3 separate regions of the Homo sapiens genome follow, and all the other regions are linked to region 3. The links are contacts of gene promoters, found by promoter capture Hi-C in blood cells and fetal thymus (Javierre and others, 2016). All regions are on one chromosome and are shown on one strand. Each heading gives the region's core, a stretch centred on a gene start or on the middle of the fragment in contact. The rest is flanking DNA. Distances are from core to core; before and after follow the strand shown.

The links. The method cuts DNA at HindIII sites, captures the fragments that hold promoters and counts their contacts. A CHiCAGO score of 5 or more calls a contact.
Region 1: a fragment that was not itself captured here is called in contact with the fragment with the promoter of APOO in region 3 in 2 of 17 cell types (total CD4 T cells and activated CD4 T cells); the score reaches 6.8 in total CD4 T cells.
Region 2: a fragment that was not itself captured here is called in contact with the fragment with the promoter of APOO in region 3 in 6 of 17 cell types (activated CD4 T cells, total CD8 T cells, naive CD8 T cells and 3 more); the score reaches 6.8 in activated CD4 T cells.

Annotation. Positions count from the first base shown.
Region 1 is chrX:24,201,637-24,204,626 of GRCh38, forward strand. All of the region lies in intron 5 of ZFX (zinc finger protein X-linked), which reads left to right. Among named protein-coding and RNA genes, the nearest start is that of ZFX, 53 kb to the left of the region's middle. The HindIII fragment of the contact is 1,231 bases long and covers 1,079-2,309 here.
Region 2 is chrX:24,163,596-24,166,824 of GRCh38, forward strand. All of the region lies in intron 3 of ZFX (zinc finger protein X-linked), which reads left to right. Among named protein-coding and RNA genes, the nearest start is that of ZFX, 15 kb to the left of the region's middle. The HindIII fragment of the contact is 2,089 bases long and covers 490-2,578 here.
Region 3 is chrX:23,906,676-23,909,728 of GRCh38, forward strand. It overlaps APOO (apolipoprotein O), which reads right to left and starts at 1,263. Exons shown (of 9, transcript NM_024122.5): 1 at 1,019-1,263. The coding sequence starts at 1,027. CXorf58 (chromosome X open reading frame 58) reads left to right here and starts at 1,331. Exons shown (of 9, transcript NM_152761.3): 1 at 1,331-1,654. RefSeq lists a silencer at 663-832 and an enhancer at 1,013-1,222. The HindIII fragment of the contact is 4,107 bases long and covers 1-1,493 here.

The DNA of each region.
Region 1 (2,990 bases), core at 444-2,943, 300 kb after region 3:
TTATCCCTCCACTGCTACCTCAGTTTGAAATTCCAAACCACCTTTAAGAAAATAACCTTGGCCCAGTTAGCCGGGTATATCATAAAAATAGCTTTGAAAAAGGGTAAGTACATATCAGTCCAGAAGTAAGAACATTAATATTGACTCTTTCTCCCTACAAACCATTTTTATAAAGCATAATCAAAATACTTTAATTTAGATAGTTATGTCCAGCGTTTAGAGAACCTGTAGTTGTTTTCTAACTGCAAAGACTTTAACCAGTTGGACTCTTTAAGCCTTCATATCATTAAGCTTGTCCTGGATCACTCATTTTCTCTAGTTTCTCAAGCTCTTAACCCAGTCTGTTGTTTTCTCACTGATTATCCAAGTTCTTGCCTCCTGTTTCATACCTATGATTGAAGCCACCAGCCATGAACTACAACTTTCTGCATTATCACCTTCCCTGCTTCCCTAAACCCAGCATAGCTACATTCTCATTCAAGTCTCAGAAGGATAGCATGTTTCTCTTCTATTTAAGGAAAATTCCTTCATCTTTGCTCCTAGTTTCATTTATCCCTTTTCCTCTGAGATCTGGATCCCAAAATTTCATCATGTGCTCTGGCTTCAGTCTCTCACTTTCTATTCCGTTTTCTCCCACAGACTGAGCATGCTTGAGTATTTTTATCTATTAATACTAAACGGAAAAGTCCTTGACTCTGCAACCCATTCTAGTTATTGTCCTTTTGTTTGCCTTTTTACATACTTGAAGAAATTCACATGTTCCATTGACTCCTCAGCCCACTCTAGTCTGACCCCCTACAGCCTTCACTCCACTGATTTTAACCAAGAACATCAGCGACCTCATGCTACTACGGTGGACATTCCTCCTCCACGTTCCTTCTTGTGTGGTGCTGCATTATTGCCATGGGCCTTACTAGGGTTCCTGCATCTTTTAACTCCCTAGCTTCCTTCATGCCCTTCTACTGCCCTCTCCAGCTTTCCCTTCTCTGGTTTATGAACTACTCTTGCCCCTCCCTTCAACTGTGGCATTCCCCAGGACTCTGTCCTCACACTGCAGATTCTCACTGCATGATGGCAAAGCTTAGTTAACACAGTTGAGGGCTCCCCAAAGTGTGTCAGCCTTCCAATTTCAGACTTGAATATTAAGCAGCTGGCTTCACATCTCATTCATTCAGTGAATCGTTGATTCATCAATATTCTGATCATCTACCATCACCAGACTGGGTCTTAAAAGACTGAGTAATGAAAATACAGGTTCTGCTGTGTCAATGGGAAAGACGGGGAGAAAAACCAGACAGTGGCCACACAGTGAATCACATATTCCAAGAGAAGCAAGCAAAGGGTGCCGTGAGCACAAAGCAATAGTGACAATCACTGGTTCTTAGGGCTTTTCAGGACGTTATTCTTAGGACCTTAAGTTAATCAAACATGCAGGAAGAGAGATCCTTTTCCTCATTTCTCTCACATTTCTTACCCCAGTCACTCAGTCACCTAAATTTAAACCCAGTTATCCTTGGCTTCTTCGTCATGTTGGGTTTTCAGTCAGACACCAAGTTCTACTCATTTCAGTCCCAAGATAGGCCTCAAATCCAGCCCACTCCGCCAGTTGTACTACCTCCGTCCTGATTCAAGGCCTCGTCATCTATCACCTGCATTACTGCAGTAGACTCAGGTCAGCTCCATGCTTTGATCTCATTGGATCTACCTTTCCAAGGCCAGCAAAAACGGGCACCTGACTTAGTCACTGCTCCGTGTGAAAGTCTCCCAGTCCTGCAGCAGATGTTCTCCAGCCTCTCATCAGAGTCCCAGAGGCAGGGCGCCCCTAAATCTGTCTCTATATAGCGGGTCCCAGCGCTGCAGATTCTAATTCTGTAGAGCTGCTGGACTGGATGCTTTGTTTTTAAATTCCCTAAGAGATTTTGACACCTGACCAGATTGAGAAACCCTTGGCCTGCAAGGATAAAGTCGGAGCCCTTCTGCCTGTGCATGAGGCCCTTCATGACCTGGCTTCAGCTTAGCAGTCGGCTGCATTTCCTGCCATGTCCTGTGCCACCCTTTACCCTCACATTCCAGCAATATTGAACCATGCATTCCCTTACCATCACGCCGTTTTGTGTCTCCCTTCATTTGTCCCCTCTCTTTCTCTTCACCTGAGTGAGGTATCTTTCCTTTGTTCCCATGGCAGCGATCAGTGCACAGTGATATTTGCCAGTCATTTCAGACTCTCATCCTCTCATTTTCTGTATCAGTTTATTAAAGATTGCATTAGAGGGTTCAACATTAATGTCATCTTACAATATACATAAATAAGCTTTTGCTTTTTTCTCATAAATGACCTTCATTTCAATTTATGTAGGAAAAAGTATAATTTATCAACAAGTGCATTTTTAAGTGACTTGTTTGGTTTTGAAACTGAAGGTATATTAAAATGTAGTTTGTTGATTAGTGATATCAAAAATAGACCAAAACAACAACTGCTTTCAGTGACCCAGAGTTTGGGAATCTTGAACTTTGCATTTGAAACAAGCTGATTAAATTTTATAATTTTTATGTTTGTAAATGACAAAGGTTTGGGGCTGCCATTTTCAAGCTTTTCTTTGCAAGTAATTTGGGATGTGGATGGTCTTGATTCTCAGTAAGTCAGAAGTTAAGTTGACAAATTGTCACTGTATTTTTGCTTTTTAATGTTGGCTTTTGAGATATTAGATTCATCTTGATGTTCTGTGTAAGAATTTTGATTAGGTAAACACAGTTTTTGGATCTGATGGAGATCACGACAGAACTTTGCAGAAGTATCATTTCAAAGACGTCAGAATCTGAGTTCTGTCTTGGTATAACTGGTGTAAATTACACAAGGGATGACTGTGAATTTTAAAAGTTATAGTGGTCAGAACCACCACCACCTAGCCTTGGTTGCAATACTGATTATGCCTGCCTGAGTCATGAGCACATTCATTTGTTTTTCACGAAAAGAAAGCATGTTTAGATAG
Region 2 (3,229 bases), core at 284-2,783, 260 kb after region 3:
TCGAACTCCTGACCTCAGGTGATCCACCCACCTCAGCCTTCCAAAGTGCTGGGATTACAGGCATTAGTCACCATGCCCGGCCGCCTAGCTAATTTTTAAAATTATTTTGTCAAGATGGAGTCTAGCTATTTTGTCCAGGCTGGTCTTGAACTCCTTGCTGCAAGTGATCTCCTGCCTTGGCTTCCCAAAGCGCTGGGATTACGGGTGTGAGCCACTGTGCCCAGGCCCCCTCTTTTAAAAAAAAGAAAAAAAAAAAAAAAAAAATTCATTACGATCGGGTTTTCTTTTATTGAGTTAATGCTGGTAATTTACATTTTCCGTCACTGTGCTAGTGTAGAATTCTAGACCATTTTCATACAAGTTGTTTTCTTTTTTTCTGTTTTTTTTTTTTCTTATTTCAAATTGTATATGTTTGTGCTTTCTCCCAGTTTCTTCCCCTCTTTTAGATTATTATCTTGTATTTTATTGTCTTCCCAACCCCCTGGAAAAAGCTTGGTTTGGAGATTTTTTTGGGGTAAAAATTAGCTGGCTCCCTAGCTTTGCTCCAGAGAATGGTCATGAAATTAATGGTTGCTGATACTCAACCTGGAGCATGCCTGTTGTTGGTCTTTTGAGAAGCAGGCGTATTTCAAACCTGCCCCTGCATTGCCCAGCTTGTTCTTTTCTTTTATTATTTTTTTAATGATTAAAGGATTTATTAAATTCCATGTGCAAAACACATTGCTGATTGCATTAGCAAAAGATCAATGTAAAAATACCCCACAATTCTGGAACTGTCCATTTAAAATATTTGTTCTAGTTGTTGAAAGGCCCAGTGTTATATTCTTGCCAGTGCTTAAGGTATACAGAGAATACTGTAAGTGTTAACACTGAGTTTACAGAACCTCATAGGCCGAAAGTAATGTATTTAGGAAAAGCAATAATAGTAAGTATGCATTCATGTAGGTGAGATATAGTATGGTCAATATGGGTCAAATTACAGCGTTGGTGATCAGTGACAAGGGAGTTGGCAAGACAATTATGTTAAGAAAGATCATAGTTTAAGAATATTTAGGGCTGGGCACGGTGCCTCACACCTGTAATCCCAGCACTTTGGGAGGCTGAGGCGGGTGGATCACCTGAGGTCAGGAGTTCGAAACCAGCCTGGCCAACGTGGTGAAACCCTGTCTCTACTAGTAAAAAATACAAAAAATTAGCCAGGCGTGGTGGTGCATGCCTGTAAATGCCAGCTACTTTTGGGAGGCTGAGGTAGGAGAATTGCTTGAACCTGGGAGGCAGAGATTGTAGTGAGCTGAGATGGCGATGTTGCACTCCAGCCTGGGCAACAAGAGTGAAACTCCGTCTGAAAAAAAAAAAAAAAATTTAGAGTGTTTTGAAAACTGTAAACCTGCAAGGCATGATTTTTACAACTAGTTACCAGAAAATGAAGGAAAGCACATAATTAGCTTGAATAAAGTAACATGAAAGCGAGACTGCACTAATTTAAAAAAACCCCAAATCCTAATACAGTATCAGAAAAATATTTTCTTTTCTTTCTTTTTTTTGAGACGGAGTCTCGCTCTATCACCAGGCTGGAGTGCAGTGGCATGAATTTGGCTCACTGCAACCTTTGCCTCCTGAGTTCAAGCAGTTCCCCTGCCTCAGCCTCCTGAGTAGCTGGGACTACAGGCACGTGCCACCACGCCTGGCTAATTTTTTGTATTGTAGTAGAGACAGGGTTTCACTATCTTGGCCAGGATGTTCTCGATCTCCTGACCTTGTGATCCGCCAGCCTCGGCCTCCCAAAGTGCTGGGATTATAGGCGTGAGCCACCACGCCCGGCCAGAAAGATTTTCTAATACAAGGAGACATATTGCTCATTGAGAAGGGGTTTGATAAGAAAACTTACTAAGTTAACAACTATGTTAATGACTAGTTCAGAGATAAATTAAATGCCCAATTTTGGGAAAGGTAGCAGGTGCAAGAAAAAGGAAATGTATAAGAAAACAGTTTCTGATACTTAAACCTTTCTTCATCATGTACTGCATTTGACAGAAATTAACCTTTTAAAAATTTTACCTAGGATGGTTTTATTTCATTTATTCCATGTACAATGTAGTCTAAATCTCCACTTGATACCATGTCAGAATCCTGTCTTCATCCTTTGATTACATCAAGTGTTTCTCACACTGCTCGAACTAAGTCTGCAACTAAAGGTAGAATACTTCAGTAGAGGAAACGTGAATAGAATTTCTTTTCAGAATTTCAGCAAAAACTAATAAGCTATTTTAAAGTTTTTCACTATGAAATAAAAGAGTGATCCAAAGAGTTGAGTTGTTTTACTCATTCCATTATGATATATGGTAGAATGTTATGGAATGAACATGGATATTGCTAAATTATTGAATGCATTAAATGGCAGTACTTTATTAAGGAGGCTGTACTGCTTTAAATATCTGAAAACTAGTTAGAATGTGTGCATTTCCTCACATCAAGCTAAGCCTTAAAAACAAAAGCATTTAAAACTAGTGTTTGTAGCTCATTGGTACAAGTAGGTTCAGAGAGTATTGTGTCAACTCTTAATCTGAGCAGGAATAGAAGCTTTGAGAAAATAGGCTTTAAGAAGGTTTGTCATTTTACAGCCAAGTTTTAATAGATTGTGAAAGTTTGGACTCTTAGATTTTAAACAAACAAAACCTTGAAATTACTGATTGGCTCAGCGTGGTTTTATGGAAAAACTAATACAAAAACTTGGCCTTGACTATTTGAGCAAAGCCTACAAAAGTTCCAGATGGGACAGGGCAAGGAAGGATGGGGCTCTATTTACAACAGCAGATATTTTCTTTTCCTCTTCTTGACGTGGAGTAGGCAGGGCTATTTGAAAATAAAATATTCTTTTCTTAGAGAATGGAACTTGAATTACAGTTATTAGATTAATATCGATTATATACATTTTCTCTTTTCCTTTTAGACTAGTTGATCTGTTAAGTGTTGATAGTTGTTGTAACCTTCCACTACTATTGATTTTTTTTATTACTGTCTCATAGGTTCTTTTGCTTTTTTTATATTTACATATTTCCATGCTGTTTTATTTGGCACATAAAAATGCATAATGACTTCAAATTCAACATAGACTAGAGAACACACACACTTATTTTTTCTTCCTTCTAAAATCACATAAAGAATATAAAAACAAATCCAGAGAAACAAGAAAACCTCAGTGGTATGAATCAGAATATGATGAATTTTT
Region 3 (3,053 bases), core at 13-2,512:
AGAGCAAATACTAGGCCTTTTCCAAGTGCTTTACACATACCAACTTACTCCTTATAACAACCCTATGAGGTAGATGTTATTACCCCAACTTCACCAAAGGAAGATAGGCACAGTGACTTGCCCAAGGTCACACAGCTAGAAAGTGGCAATGCCAGGACTAGAAGGCAGAATGCATGTTCTGATTTTACAGCCTTTATTAACGTACCCAAAGCACATTGCAGAGCTCAATAAAACTTTTAAATGAATAGTACAATTCTGAGATTTCATTAGCACTATTTTATGGGTACTATGCTTCTTGAAGACTCAATTTTGTAGATTAATTTCTGGTAGCCTGTGATTTTTTATGACAAAATACATATAATTTACTTTTTAAAAAGTAGAATAATGGCTTTATGCTAAAGTGCAGATTTTCGAAATTAAGTCTTCATCGTAAAAGTCGATTTTTTTCCAAAGGACACGAGTTCACAAAACGCAGGGAAGGGGGTCCACTGGCCCGTATTAAATAATGTTCCCTGAGGAGTGGAGCAAAGCTCCAGCTTCCCTCGTCACCCAGCCATCCCACCCCAGCCTCCCCCATACCCTGCACAGCTTCTCCTAAAATGACCCTCCCCCATCCACACATCAGGTTCTGAAACCTGACCCTGCCAGGCAACTAAAGCCGCGAACCCCACAGTGCCCTGAGCTGGCCTCACCCTACCCACGATCCCAAGAGGGTACTAGCCGAGGGGATGGGTACTTTGGGGGAAGGCACTTTAAATTTTCAAAGTGTTTAATTCACGAAAGCACAACCCAAAGGGCCGCCCCCACCCACCCGGGGGTCTCCCGCCTCCGCCCGGCAGCCGCTCATCCCCAGTAGACCAGTGAATGAACCGCGGGGCCGGGACGCAGCCGGCCCAGTGGCGGGAAAAGCCTCGGGGTGAGCCAGGCCTGGCTGCAGAGAGGCCCCAAGAGAGCGCGGGGAGGGCTCGGGCGGCCGGGAGGGGGCGGTGACAGCTGTGACTCGACTCCACGCTCTCACCTTGAACATGTCGCTGGCAGCGGAGGCTCCGGCAGGGTCACCCCGGCCTCGGCCACGCCCACTATAGAGAGGTGACTACGGAGGCCCGGTAGGGCCTTGATTTCTCCAACCGCAAGCAGGCAGCGGTGCGGGTGACGGCCGTACTGCAAACTCGGTGCGGCGAAGGTTTAGTTCAATCACCCGGTTCTAGAAGCCGCGTCGCTGAGCCGCAGCGCGTCGCGCCCGGGCAGCGGGTGAACGCAAACCCCGCCCTCCAGGAGGCTCCGCCCCTGCGCCGGCGGTTGCTAGGCGGCAAGAAAGCGCCGGCTCTGTGTGGACGGTACGCGGAGGCGCGAGGAGGGAGGCGCCTGGCGTTGCCGCGGCGCTGGGAAACTGTCTTTGCAGCGGCGACTGGGCGCCCAGCGGCGTGTACTGGGATTTCTGTGAGCAGAGGCTGCCGAGAGGGGGCGCTTGGAGGGCCACCGGCGGCTTCGAAAGCTTCGCAGCCGGAAGCCGCCGGTTGGCGGCCTGGATTTACCTTACGAAAGGTTTTAACCAAGGACTTGAGGTTTCTCAGGTTTTAAATTTAAACTAATATGCTGTGTCCTTTAATCGGAAAAGGCTCTGACCTTATTTTTTCCCGTTAAGAAACAAGCGGTAAGCCTCCTCTCTGGAAATCAAATGTTTGTCCCTTAATACTTGTAGAAGTAACTGATAATGGCAATAATTATCTTATTAACAAGAGTAAACAAGCACTGATACAGCACTTTGATATGCGCAGCCCTGATCTAAGTTCTTTATTCACATTCATCTAATCTTTCCAACAACGGAAGTAGGTGGGCATGATTATTATTCCCAATACATAGATGAAGAAACTGAGGCACGTAGAAGTAATTTGTACAAGACCACATAGGAAGTGGGAAGCTAGGATCCAAACCCATTAGTCTGCCTTTGAAACCTGTGTTCTAGCCAAAACAATTGTTGCACTGTCTCATAATGAGGATGTATTTCCTATTTCATTCTGTATTTCTGCCCTAATCCTATAAAAAGTGTAAGCCCCATCCAGGCGAGCATCTGGAAAAATTTAGAATTTGTACAGTGACGTGCCACTGCCCTCCAGCCAAAGACCACTAGGGGCACACCTGTAGTTGAAGAAATTGGGTTTCTCATTGCTGCAAGGAGAACGCACACGTAGGAACACAGTGACATATTTCAGTAAAAGAGTTAGATTTATTATAGGATTTGGGCTTTGGTTCGGTGATTTTGGGGCGAGTTCAAGGAAGCAGGAGCTTTGCTCTGGATCGGGTGTTGTTAGGAAGCAGTGGTAACACCAAGGCCCAGCTGTGACTGCCAGCCTTGGTGTTAGTTAAGCCCAGCTTAGCTCCCAGATGTTAAGGGCTGCTTTTCTCTTTCTTAAGAGGATTGTATATTCCAAGGCATCCCCAAGGAGAAATACTGAATAGACTCAGAAGGCTCTCTGCATCAGCAGTGTAACGTCACACATACATAAAAATGTGAAACATATTGATAAATTAGGGCAGAAGTTCTTAATTCAGGGGGTATGTGAACTTGTATGGGGGAAAAAATGACAACTTCATTTTCACTAACCTCTAACTGAACTTTGTTTCTTTCAATTATAGTGTAGATAACAAGCCACAGTAGTATTAACATTGATGACTTTGTCATCAATGGAAAGCACAGATATTTTCATGTTACATTGCAGTCATGTCAGGGATCTTGAAATATTTATGCTCGTTACTACAAAAATACAGTAGTTATTAGAGCTCATTTAATGCATTAAGAAGACACATTTACTATAATTTTGTTTTAAAAAATATTTTGATGATTTCAATATAATTGGAGCACCTTGTAATCCTATGTATTTTATGTTATGCGTTTTAAAACCAATTCTTAGAAGAGATCTGTCCATAGGGGTCCATGGCACCAAAAGAAATGATAAAGAGCCCCTGGTTTAGTAACAGAGACCAAGCAGTGAGTAAGAATTTGGGAGCTGCATCCAAATTGGAGCATTACTGCATCCAAACTCGTTGCTTTA